Regions from separate parts of the Homo sapiens genome. Here regions 1, 2 and 4 are each linked to region 3. The links are contacts of gene promoters, found by promoter capture Hi-C in blood cells and fetal thymus (Javierre and others, 2016). All regions are on one chromosome and are shown on one strand. The core of a region is centred on a gene start or on the middle of the fragment in contact, and the rest is flanking DNA. Distances in the headings are between cores, read along the strand shown.

The links. The method cuts DNA at HindIII sites, captures the fragments that hold promoters and counts their contacts. A CHiCAGO score of 5 or more calls a contact.
Region 1: the fragment with the promoter of TMED4 here is called in contact with the fragment with the promoter of PSMA2 in region 3 in 1 of 17 cell types (fetal thymus); the score reaches 5.8 in fetal thymus.
Region 2: a contact is called between the fragment with the promoter of YKT6 here and the fragment with the promoter of PSMA2 in region 3, in 1 of 17 cell types (fetal thymus). The highest score is 6.5, in fetal thymus.
Region 4: a fragment that was not itself captured here is called in contact with the fragment with the promoter of PSMA2 in region 3 in 1 of 17 cell types (M2 macrophages); the score reaches 6.2 in M2 macrophages.

What each region holds. Positions count from the first base shown.
Region 1 is chr7:44,580,977-44,583,676 of GRCh38, forward strand. It overlaps TMED4 (transmembrane p24 trafficking protein 4), which reads right to left and starts at 1,255. Exons shown (of 5, transcript NM_182547.4): 1 at 1,071-1,255; 2 at 747-847; 3 at 473-598; 4 at 117-263. The coding sequence starts at 1,230. RefSeq lists silencers at 879-978, 1,379-1,538 and an enhancer at 1,629-1,738. The HindIII fragment of the contact is 9,471 bases long and covers 1-2,700 here.
Region 2 is chr7:44,199,598-44,202,297 of GRCh38, forward strand. It overlaps YKT6 (YKT6 vesicular SNARE protein), which reads left to right and starts at 1,381. Exons shown (of 7, transcript NM_006555.4): 1 at 1,381-1,642. The coding sequence starts at 1,539. RefSeq lists a silencer at 1,488-1,557. The HindIII fragment of the contact is 756 bases long and covers 1,272-2,027 here.
Region 3 is chr7:42,930,832-42,933,531 of GRCh38, forward strand. PSMA2 (proteasome 20S subunit alpha 2) reads right to left here and starts at 1,343. Exons shown (of 8, transcript NM_002787.5): 1 at 1,287-1,343. The coding sequence starts at 1,327. MRPL32 (mitochondrial ribosomal protein L32) reads left to right here and starts at 1,545. Exons shown (of 3, transcript NM_031903.3): 1 at 1,545-1,685. The coding sequence starts at 1,556. RefSeq lists an enhancer at 1,494-1,723. The HindIII fragment of the contact is 5,414 bases long and covers 1-1,643 here.
Region 4 is chr7:41,913,971-41,916,670 of GRCh38, forward strand. No RefSeq gene overlaps it. Among named protein-coding and RNA genes, the nearest start is that of INHBA, 210 kb to the left of the region's middle. The HindIII fragment of the contact is 1,232 bases long and covers 733-1,964 here.

The sequences.
Region 1 (2,700 bases), core at 5-2,504, 1.7 Mb after region 3:
ACCAATACTTCTCATTCCATTCTCTGCAGAGCTGATCTCCCAAGCAGAAACTTGAGTAGGTATAGTGGGTATAAAGGTCAACTGCCCTCTCAAATTACAAGGAGATATGCACTTGCCCTTTGGTAATCCTGCTCCTTCTGAATCTGTTCCACCTGATCAAGCAACTGGCGGGCGCGGAGCTGTAGCTCCGTCAGCTTATCTTTTGCAGCAATCTCAGGGTAGTTGTTGGCATGCTCCCCAACCTGGATGTCGAGATGCACCCGCTACAAGGAAACATGGAATGTATGAGTGGTGGGGCCTCCAGTTGTCTGTTCCAGGGTATGGAACCCACTATTGTCCCTGGCTGTGGAGCAGAAGGCAACATCTGTCTCCCCAATTCTGACTGTGCTACAAAGTTTCACAATCTTGATAAATCAAAATTTGGAAACAAGTGAGAGATTCTAAGCTGAAGCCAAAGAGAAAATCCTCTTACCAGTTTGCCACCAGCGAAGAGAGCCATCCTGGTAGAATTGGAGTGCAGACAGATTTGATGGTCACCGGGCGTGTGGGAGGTGAACGTGAAGCGGCCCTCCGAGCCGTACTGCCGGGACAGCACCACCTGCAACATATGTGAGTGAAGGCCCCACCTTTATACCGCAGGCTCTCCAAGTGCAAGTTCCTGTCCCTTGAGGCCTCCTCCAGGCAGTGCTTTACACCCCACGGGAGCTCCACTGAAGAACGGCTGCGTGGGCCAACGCCAGCCTTACCTTGCCGTCGGGGTCCTTCACTTCCACGTGCATGCCCAGGCCAGGGGTCGAGGGCAGGAAGACCTCCTTCTGCTTATCCCACATCTGGGTACGATAGTTGCCTGCGGGGCAGACACATAGTCACGACCGGCCCTAGTGGGCCGCCTCTCCGCCCGGCCCCCTCCGACGTGCGGCCCGGAGCTCTAGGCAGGGGGCCTGGCGTCCTCGGGGCACCCTCAGGCTAGGTACTGGGGGAGCCAGCGACCCGGCTGGGCTCGGGAGGAGGGAGCGCCGCCGAGGGCTGAGCTGGGTACAAAGGGCCTCCCCACCCTCAGCCCGCCTGACCGATGACCATGGTCTCGTCGGGGATTTCCTCGATGAAACAGCGCTTCTCGGTCTCGCCGATGTGGAAGTAGAGCCCCTGGGCGCCTGTGGCGCACAGCGCGAGAAGCAGCAGGGCCTGCCGCCCCATCGCCCGCAGAGGCCCAGCCCCGACACCTGCCATCGCGCCTCAGCCCCTAAGCGCCTGCGCACATTTGCGCATCGCTCTGCGCCTGCGCGCCACCCTAGCGACCCTGAGAGTTAGGGGAAGAGGACGCCTGCGCAGTGATATGTACTCGCCGTCTCCTGCAACTCCATCCGTACCGAACACTGCCGCGCCCCGCCCCCTCACACAGCCCGGCGCCCGCCTACCCCCGCAACGAGAGTAGAGGGCGCATGCGCAATGACGTTCGCCCTTAATTTCTCGCCCCTTACCCCGCAGCTTACCTCCGGCATCTCGCAGGGGAGGCACGCCTGCGCAGTCACGCCCGCCCTCGGCCCCAGTCAGCGATTTGGGTCTCGGAGCACCAAGGAGACGGTGGACGGAATCTGACCAGGCTTGGTGGCTACGATGGCCTGAAGCGTGCCTTTTGGGTTCTCAGCTCGGGCTCACAAGTGTTTTCTGTGCTAAATACAAAAAGCCCTGTGATGTTTTGCTTTGCGTGTCCACCTATCTGACTCGTAAGAACCGAGGCTGAATCCAGACCCACACTCTGTCACGTCGGGAGAGCCTGCCGCGGCGAGCCTCTGCGAGCGGGCATTTCTTGGGTGGGGACCAAAAGCCCAGTGCTGCCATAGTTTCGGATCATTCTTTTAAGAAGCTGGGGCCGGGCGCGGTGGCTGGCACCTGTAATCCCAGCACTCTGGGAGGCTGAGGCGGGCGGATCCCTTGAGCCCAGGAGTTCGGGACCAGCCTGGGCAACATGGTGAAACCCCCGTCTCTACAAAAAATTAACCGGTGTGGTGGTGTGCGCATGTAGTCCCAGCTACTTGGGAGGCTGAGGCAGGAGAATCGCTTGAACCCAGGAGGTCGAGGATGCATTAAGCAGTGATCGCGCTCCAGCCTGGGCGACCGAGGGTGATACCTTGTCTTAAAAAAAAGGTGGGAGAGTGGAACGAAAACTTGGAATAAGTAGGGTCATGGAGCTTGTTTACATCCCCTAGTTACAGCACATCCTTTTGAAAGTGAAAAACAAACTGGAATGTTACTTAGTGGGCATGGAATCGAAGCAACGGAAGGTTAAAACTGTTTTTATCAAGGCCAGGCGGGCGCGGTGGCTCACGCCTGTAATGCTAACACTTTGGGCGGCCAAGGCTGGTGGATCATCTGAGGTTAGAAATTCGAGACCAGTTGGGCCAACAAGGTGAAACCCCCGTCTCTACTAAAAATACATTTTATCAACAGAATTTCGAAACTTTTATATAATAGAATAATTACAATGAACTTTCATAAAGAACTTGAGCATACCTGGATTTTGGTATCCGTAGGGGTCCAGGAATTATCCCCCTTGGATAATAACGGAGGGCTGTACTCATCATCCAACTTCAACAACAGTTTGCTGCCTTTCTCATTTCATGTATCCCTTTCTGCATTTTTTTTTGAAGTGCTGTATATTAAAGCAAATCCTGGACATCATGTCATTTCACCTATAAA
Region 2 (2,700 bases), core at 131-2,630, 1.3 Mb after region 3:
TGATTTTGTATCCTGAGACTTTGCTGAAGTTGCTTATCAGCTTAAGGAGATTTTGGGCTGAGACGATGGGGTTTTCTAGATATACAATCATGTCATCTGCAAACAGGGACAATTTGACTTCCTCTTTTCTTAATTGAATACCCTTTATTTCCTTCTCCTACCTGATTGCCCTGGCCAGAACTTCCAACACTATGTTGAAAAGGAGTGGTGAGAGAGGGCATCCCAGTCTTGTGCCAGTTTTCAAAGGGAATGCTTCCAGTTTTTGTCCATTCAGTATGATATTGGCTGTGGGTTTGTCATAGATAGCTCTTATTATTTTGAGATACGTCCCATCAATACCTAATTTATTGAGAGTTTTTAGCATGAGGGTTGTTGAATTTTGTCAAAGGCCTTTTCTGCATCTATTGAGATAATCATGTGGTTTTTGTCTTTGGTTCTGTTTATATGCTGGATTACGTTTACTGATTTTCGTATGTTGAACCAGCCTTGCATCCCAGGGATGAAGCCCACTTGATCATGGTGGATAAGCTTTTTGATGTGTTGCTGGATTCGGTTTGCCAGTATTTTACTGAGGATTTTTGCTTCAATGTTCATCAAGGATATTGGTCTAAAATTCTTTTTTTGTTGTGTCTCTCTCTGCCACCCTTTGGTATCAGGATGATGCTGGCCTCATAAAATGAGTTAGGGAGGATTCTCTCTTTTTCTTTTGATTGGAATAGTTTCAGAAGGAATGGTACAAGCTCCTCCTAAAATGTGGCACATATACACCATGGAATACTATGCAGCCATAAAAAATGATGAGTTCATGTCCTTTGTAGGGACATGGATGAAGCTGGAAACCATCATTCTCAGCAAACTATTGCAAGGACAAAAAACCAAACACCGCATGTTCTCACTCATAGGTGGGAATTGAACAATAAGAACACATGGACACAGGAAGGCGAACATCACACACCGGGGACTGTTGTGGGGTGGGGGGAGGGGGGAGGGATAGCATTAGGAGATATACTTAATGCTAAATGACGAGTTAATGGGTGCAGCACACCAACATGGCACATGTATACATATGTAACAAACCTGCACGTTGTGCACATGTACCCTAAAACTTAAAGTATAATAATAAAAAAAATGCTTACTTTAAAAAAAGAAAGAAAAGAAAAAAAAAAAAAAGAAGGGTTCAGGCCGCTGTGGGAGGCCCAGCACCACCCAGCACAAGACAGTACGGTATCCCGCCGCGCGCCCGACTCCACCTGGCGAGCAGGGAGGGGCCAAGCTTACGCGAGGCGTGGCATCCCGCCCCTCGCTGCATTGTACTTCCGGGCTCACATTTCTGCATCCGGAGTATGAGAACCCTCAACCAGGCTGACCGGATCCGGAAGTGGATTGCGAGCCAGGAGGAGGAAGCCGGCGGTGGCCCCGTCAGCAGCCGGCTGCTGAGAGGCCGGTAGGCGGCGGCGGTCCCGAGGGGCGGCGGCCGCGCTGCTCCCTGAGAACGGGTCCCGCAGCTGGGCAGGCGGGCGGCCTGAGGGCGCGGAGCCATGAAGCTGTACAGCCTCAGCGTCCTCTACAAAGGCGAGGCCAAGGTGGTGCTGCTCAAAGCCGCATACGATGTGTCTTCCTTCAGCTTTTTCCAGAGATCCAGGTGAGCGGCACAGGCTGGTGGGCCGTGGCGGTCGGGCGGAGAGGACTGGGGTGGGGGTCCGAGTCGGAGTGGGCCTGGGGTCGGCGGAGGGATGAGGGGAGGGTGGAGGAGGCCAAGGGTAGGGGCAGGGCGGGGTGGCCGAGTGCCCGGGGTCTGAGAAGGCTGGTGTCCGAGTCAGAGGCGGGGCGGGGTGGGGAGGGCCCGGGGTCTGCTGTCCGGGCTTGGTCTCCTATAATGGAATCTGGCCGTGGACTCTACCTTTGAGGAACCAACATTAGCTCTTTAAGAGCTTATACCATTCTAGAATATAGTTCTCTACTCAGTGTTTTTCAAATTTCTGTCGTGTAAAAATTTTAAGGAGACTGTGAAGTAGTGCAGATTTCCAAGCTTCATGCCAAGATGTTCTGAATTAGTAGATTGAGGCCTCGGTATTTATATTTTAGACCAACACTTCCCACCCAGTGATTCTGACTCTGGGAGCTTGGGTGCCGCATCTTGAGAGCCATATTTTGATTTTCTTGCGGGGCTTCCCAACAATTCTGTATGAGAGATAGTGATATACTTTTTTTTGTTTGTTTTTAATGGGTGAAGTCACTGAGGTACCAAGAGGTTATATCACAACCAGCTAGAACTGAAAGCCAGGTTTAACGCTTTTTAGTTGGACACTAGTGGTACAAAAGGATTCCACACGGAAGATGCAAATGAAGCATGGGATCTGTAGGGCTTACAGGCTTTTACTTGTTTCTGGGGCGCTTTAATTGCTGGAACGTGTTAGAAGTAACACAGACACTTCCAGACCATTCGTGGGAGGGATTGGGGTGACTCAGGCACGAAAGAAGGAGGACCCTACATGGTCGGTATCTATGGTCATCTTGTCTCAAAATCTGATGGAATCTGCCGTTTGGATTCTGTTTTCCCTGCTTCAGTGCAGCTGGTTCTTGATGAGAGTTCTTTGCCAAGGACTTGCTGGATGTAAAAAAAAAAAAATGTTATTTTGTTGAAACTTTCTGCTTCTTTGAGTTCTTTTAAAAAAATATTTTTAATTGTGGTAAAATGGT
Region 3 (2,700 bases), core at 93-2,592:
CCACATTTGTTTTCTTCATAAATAGGAACAGTGAATACATCCTGCACACACTATTCTGTCATATGTAATATAATGAGACCTTTTATTGCATAATTAAATTAATCTCGTTCAAAGGTTACAAAAAAACTATTACATACACCCACTGCTTACTGAAAACTGCCAAGAGAAAAGTACTTTTGGAATTTAAGACAACGTTATGTAATGGAAAGTGTATTTTTGTTATCAGAAAAAAAACCCAGTTTGAATGTCAACTCAGCTACTCACCGATGACCTTAGACAAGTTGTTTAATTTGTACAAGCTGCGGTTAGTTCATCTGTAAGAAGCTGAGATAACATTCATTATAGCAGTGGAAAGAGATGGAGCAGGTTAAGGTTAAGTTGCACCTAACAAAGTACTCAACAAGTTAGATCCCGCCTGCCTTCAGTTGTCAGGAGTACATTTTAAGTAAACTGGGCATTACTGATCCTTAAGAAAATGGGTAAGTCAGAAAACTTCCCCAGTCAATTTTTAAAAGTCTTCGGCGATGGTTTTCTCACGTTGAGAGCCATGGTTCGCCCCAACTGTATTTTGGAAAGTAAACTTATTATTCTAATCCCCTTTTCTACAATAGAAAAACCTACAATCTTGTTTAAAGTAAACATCCCCCTCCCCGACGTTCCCCCCAGTCCACCAAAAAAAGACCAAAACTCAAACTTGCCTCGTTGTTAGGGGTTCACAAAAAAGTGATAGGGGCTTTCGGTTTTTAGTCCTTATGTTTCTAATTCGTGCATCGAAGAAACCGAAAGCGGGAGGTTTTGAAAGACACTAGTGCCAAATGGAGACCAAGACTCCGACTTAACTGTAAAGCTGAGAGTTTTCCAAGAAAAGGGAACCCCACATATTTGACCAAGATTCCAAGTTTCAGAAACCACCGCATCAGGTCTACTTGAGCCAGGAAAAAAATCCTGAGTTCGGAACGGGCCACCCAGAGATGGTTAAGCTAAAACTGCCTTCTTTTCTGGTCTCCAAAGTGAAAGCGAATCCTTGGCTATGTGCCTCACCGTCCCGCAGCCCCATGTTAACCCCGCAAAACCGCATCCCCCCGACCCTCCAGCAGCCTCCGACCAAGGAAGCTCCAGGAATCCCGGGTCGGCCTGGCAAATGACTTTGCAAAGCCGCATTTCCAACTCCATTCCCTACTGGACCCTCCAGAAGCACCAATGCCGACGTCAGGATGGGAAAAACTAAATCGACAGAGTACCAGCAACCTCGACTACGCTGAAGACCTCGAGGGCCCCTTCCATACCTGAATGTAGTCAGCGAAAAGCTGTACCCGCGCTCCGCCATCTTTACCCGAAGAGCCAAAGCACAGCCGCACACATGCGCACTGTGGCCGATTTCCTTTCATTTCCCCGCCCCTCACCTTTCCTTTACTCTCTATGATTGGAGGAGAGTCAGAGCTGCTCCAAGAGCATGCGGGGTGTTGTAGTTCTAAGAAGCGAGGCTTGCCCGATTCTGTGCCTGTGCGCATGCTGAAAGCAGGGGCGGGACCGGGGCGGTCTTCCAGCAGGGAAAATGGCGCTGGCCATGCTGGTCTTGGTGGTTTCGCCGTGGTCTGCGGCCCGGGGAGTGCTTCGAAACTACTGGGAGCGACTGCTACGGAAGCTTCCGCAGAGCCGGCCGGGCTTTCCCAGTCCTCCGTGGGGTAGGTAAAGAAGGGCTCCGTGGGAGAGGGGGCTGATGACGGGACCTCGGGCAGCGTAGCAGACGCAGCTTACACAGTTCGCCCTCAGCCCCGGTTCTGATCCGCGGCCTCATGTCGGGGACGTAGTTCGTGACATTCCCATATTAGCGAGAACAGAACGACTGTTTTTGCGCTCCCTCCACCGCAAAAAAAAAAAAAAAAAAATTCCTCTGCTTGTTCCATTCGTACACAGAATGTAACCCAAGCTTGTGTCAAAGATAAATCATAGCCAGCCAGTAAGTAAAGCGCTGAAAACAGATTTTATTCAGTAACTACTGCAGGTAAAGAGCTGAGCTCCATCCCGGTTTGTGCAGAGGTGACTTTGGGCGTTTTAAAGGGAGAATGAGCGAGGCGGGAGTGTAGGGGCTCTGTAGAGTCAGAGAAGTGTAGTATAGTGAAGTCAGTGCAAATGTGATTAGCCGGCTGTGTCTGCTAGCTCGCAGTTGTCTTAGGGAGAATTCTATCCTCCCGCAGAGACTGGGAGACAAAGGCCCTATCCTTCCTAATGATTAGATTTCGAAGGAATGGCTCTCAGGGCCTTGAAAGAAAAGCTTCCGAGTTAGTTGCAAGGGATACGTATTTACAATTATATGCCCTTTCCAGGAAATGCTCTAAGGGAGTTCGGGACCTACTATCGGGGTATGTTGGCCAAAATAAATAGGAAATTTTCCAGGCAGCGTTGAGCTTTCTCAGGCAGGCACTTTAAAGGGGGGGCCGAGGTCATCCTAGGATACAGCCTTATGCTGCTAGAAACTATGCTAGAGTTTGGTCAAGTCTGTGGAGTTCAGGGATTTGTACAGAGTTGTCCTGAGAGGACAGTTCTGCAGGTCTCACTTGGCATCAAGGCTCACCACTCTCTGGATCTGTCTTTCCTTTCCAGCCCTGCCCTCACCTCCCCTCCCGCTTCCCCTCTCCCCCCTCTCCTCTTCCCTTCCCTTCCCTCCCTTCTTTCCTCCCTTCCTCCCTCCCTCCCGCG
Region 4 (2,700 bases), core at 99-2,598, 1.0 Mb before region 3:
AGCCTCTAAGAATGCTAGTTCTAAAATATGTGTGTGTGTGTGTGCATGTGTGTGTGTGTGTGTGTATGTATAGATATAGATATAGATATAGATATAGATATAGATATAGATATAGATATATGTACACATTCCTTCATGGGTTTTATTTAATTCATTCTGGAAAGTATTTTTGTCAACACTTCTCTTACAAGACTCCTTAATCAACCATGGCCATGAACTCTAAGGTATTTTTTCAAGCTATAATAATGACATTATTCCACCAAAAGGGCTTCCTTTGTAATCCTGTTAAAATATTTGCAAAAAAGAGAATTCCAAATACTTTGAATTATCCAGCATGCTACTAGTGGAGAGGCAGCTAGAAATGATAAATCCTAGCACTTCCTAAGAAATTCCTAACAGCAATTAAGCCTGTTTCGCAGTGTTACTGTACTGCTTAGAAAGGAAAGATACTCAGATACATGAGGGAGGGAGAGAAAGGAAGGCACAGAAAGCAAGAGAGAGAACAAAATTGTTGCAATTATCTTGGTATTAATTCTTTTTGACCAGAATGTCATCCATTTTGACTAGAAATCATCCATGCAGGAGTTGAGATTGTAGTGGAGTCCAAAGCTCACACTGCTCACCACACGACAGCCAACACATTGAAAGACAAGGTGTTGGAAGACGACTTTACTTCAGAGAGAGCCAGCAGAACAGCGTCCTAAATAACTATCTTAGAATGCATGAATCTCAAGCTTCTTTTTATACTGGGGAAGAGGGAAGAAGGAGGTGGCTGGTGACCACAGACATCTGAGCATCAGCAGAAGTCCAAGGAGGATGCAAAACTTCTTTGTCCTTGGTCAGGTCACAATGCTCCTATAAATCTTCAACATAACATTGTTACTTGTGCATATGTCCTCCTTATCTCCTCGAGGGTTACTTTGGGGCAGGCACTGTTATCATCTTTGCTTTAAAATTAAACTATAGGCTGGATGTGTTTGTTCAGGCTTGTAATCCCAGCAATTTGGGAGGCCGAGGCAGGAGGATGGCTTGAGCCCAGAATTTTGAGACTAGCCTAGGCAACAAAGAGAGACCCTGTCTCTACAGAAAAAGTTAAACAATTAGCCAGGCATGGTGGTGTGTGCCTGTAATCCCAGCTACTTGGGAGGCTGGGGTGGGAGGATCATTTGAATCTGGGAGTCATGTTTGTGCCACTACACTCCGGCCTGGGAGACAGAGTGAGACCCTGTCTCAAAAAAATAAATAAATAAATAAATAAATAAATAAAAATTAAAAATAAAGTTAAACTGGAAACTAAATTCCTCCCATAGTTAGCTTGGCCTACGTGCAAAAACGGGCAATGGCAGTTAGCTTGTGAGGTCACATGCAAGAAGGAGTCAGCTGTATTAGATTTCTCTCACTGTTACAAGATTAGCTCTACATATGTTTTAAAAGTTCAAACTACAATTTTCTTATTCATTTAGAAATAATTGAAAAATCAACATGTGAGTACTAAATTATCAAAATTACCATTGATAAAACCTAACCTAGCTCTCCCAGTGTGCGAAAGCAATGCTGAGCATTATTTATATATTCTTCCATATCTACTAGTGAAGTAAATAGTGAATAGAAATGCCACTGGTCTTGGACTCAGAAACTTAAGGTTGAAGTTCAAGTCCATCATGGCCTAACCATCTGTATGGTCTTTGAGTCACTGAATCTATTTGGGTCTCAATTTTCTTATCTATGAAGAATATTTTTCTGCAGTCTGTGCAGAGATAGCTCATGTCATTCAGGTCTCAGGTTAAAATGTCCTCTGCTCAGAGCTGCCTTTGATGGTCATGTCATCTAAACTAGCTGTCCATCCCACAGCCACCTATTTGAATTATCTGAATAGCACTTAGGACTCTTCAGTTACTTTTTCCTCATTTAATTGTTTATTATGTACTCTTTGTTTTATTGTCTGCTACCCCTGGCAAAATACAAGCTTCAGGGAGGGAAAAAACAAAAAACAACAAAAAAAAAACACCTGCCTACTGGTTCACCAGTGCATCACCAGTGCCTGGCACAAAAATAGGCATGCAATAAATAGTTGATGAATGAATAAGTGAATAAATATAAAAGGGGCTCAAACTGGTGCCCTGCCAGCTTTCAAAGGCTCTTGTGAGGACCACAAAGAGGAAGTAGATGCGACCATGGCTTAGAATGATGGAACACTCTGCAAATGGAAGATTTTATTACTCTGATTTTAATTTTCCTTCAAGGTTAACAACATGTTTCTACCCATAACTTCATGAATTATTTTCATAGCTAATAAATTCTCCACATGGAATGTAAGATGGCTCTCCAATTTTCTGAAGCAATTTCACTTAGAAAAAATAAAAAAAAAAACACAATGAAATTCACAAAGATAATTATGTCAGGGTCCATGTCCTAATTACAGTTTCTTAGCAAGAGTTAGTTCAAATTTCTTCGTTTCCGTAGCCAATGGAACCTCAGGACTTGAGTGCTTTCCCACAGCATTCCATAAGAGGTCACAAAAGAAAGAGGAGGCAGGGAAGAGCATGCCGGCTTGTGTGCATGTGGGTCTCACATTCTCCACCTCAACGTCTTCTCTGATGGCCTGTCTTACTCAACCTCTCAAGTGATGGCAAAGTAGGTGGCAAGTCACAGACCTCATGATGAAACTCTGGCCTCTATGTTCTTGTTCAAAGCTGACTG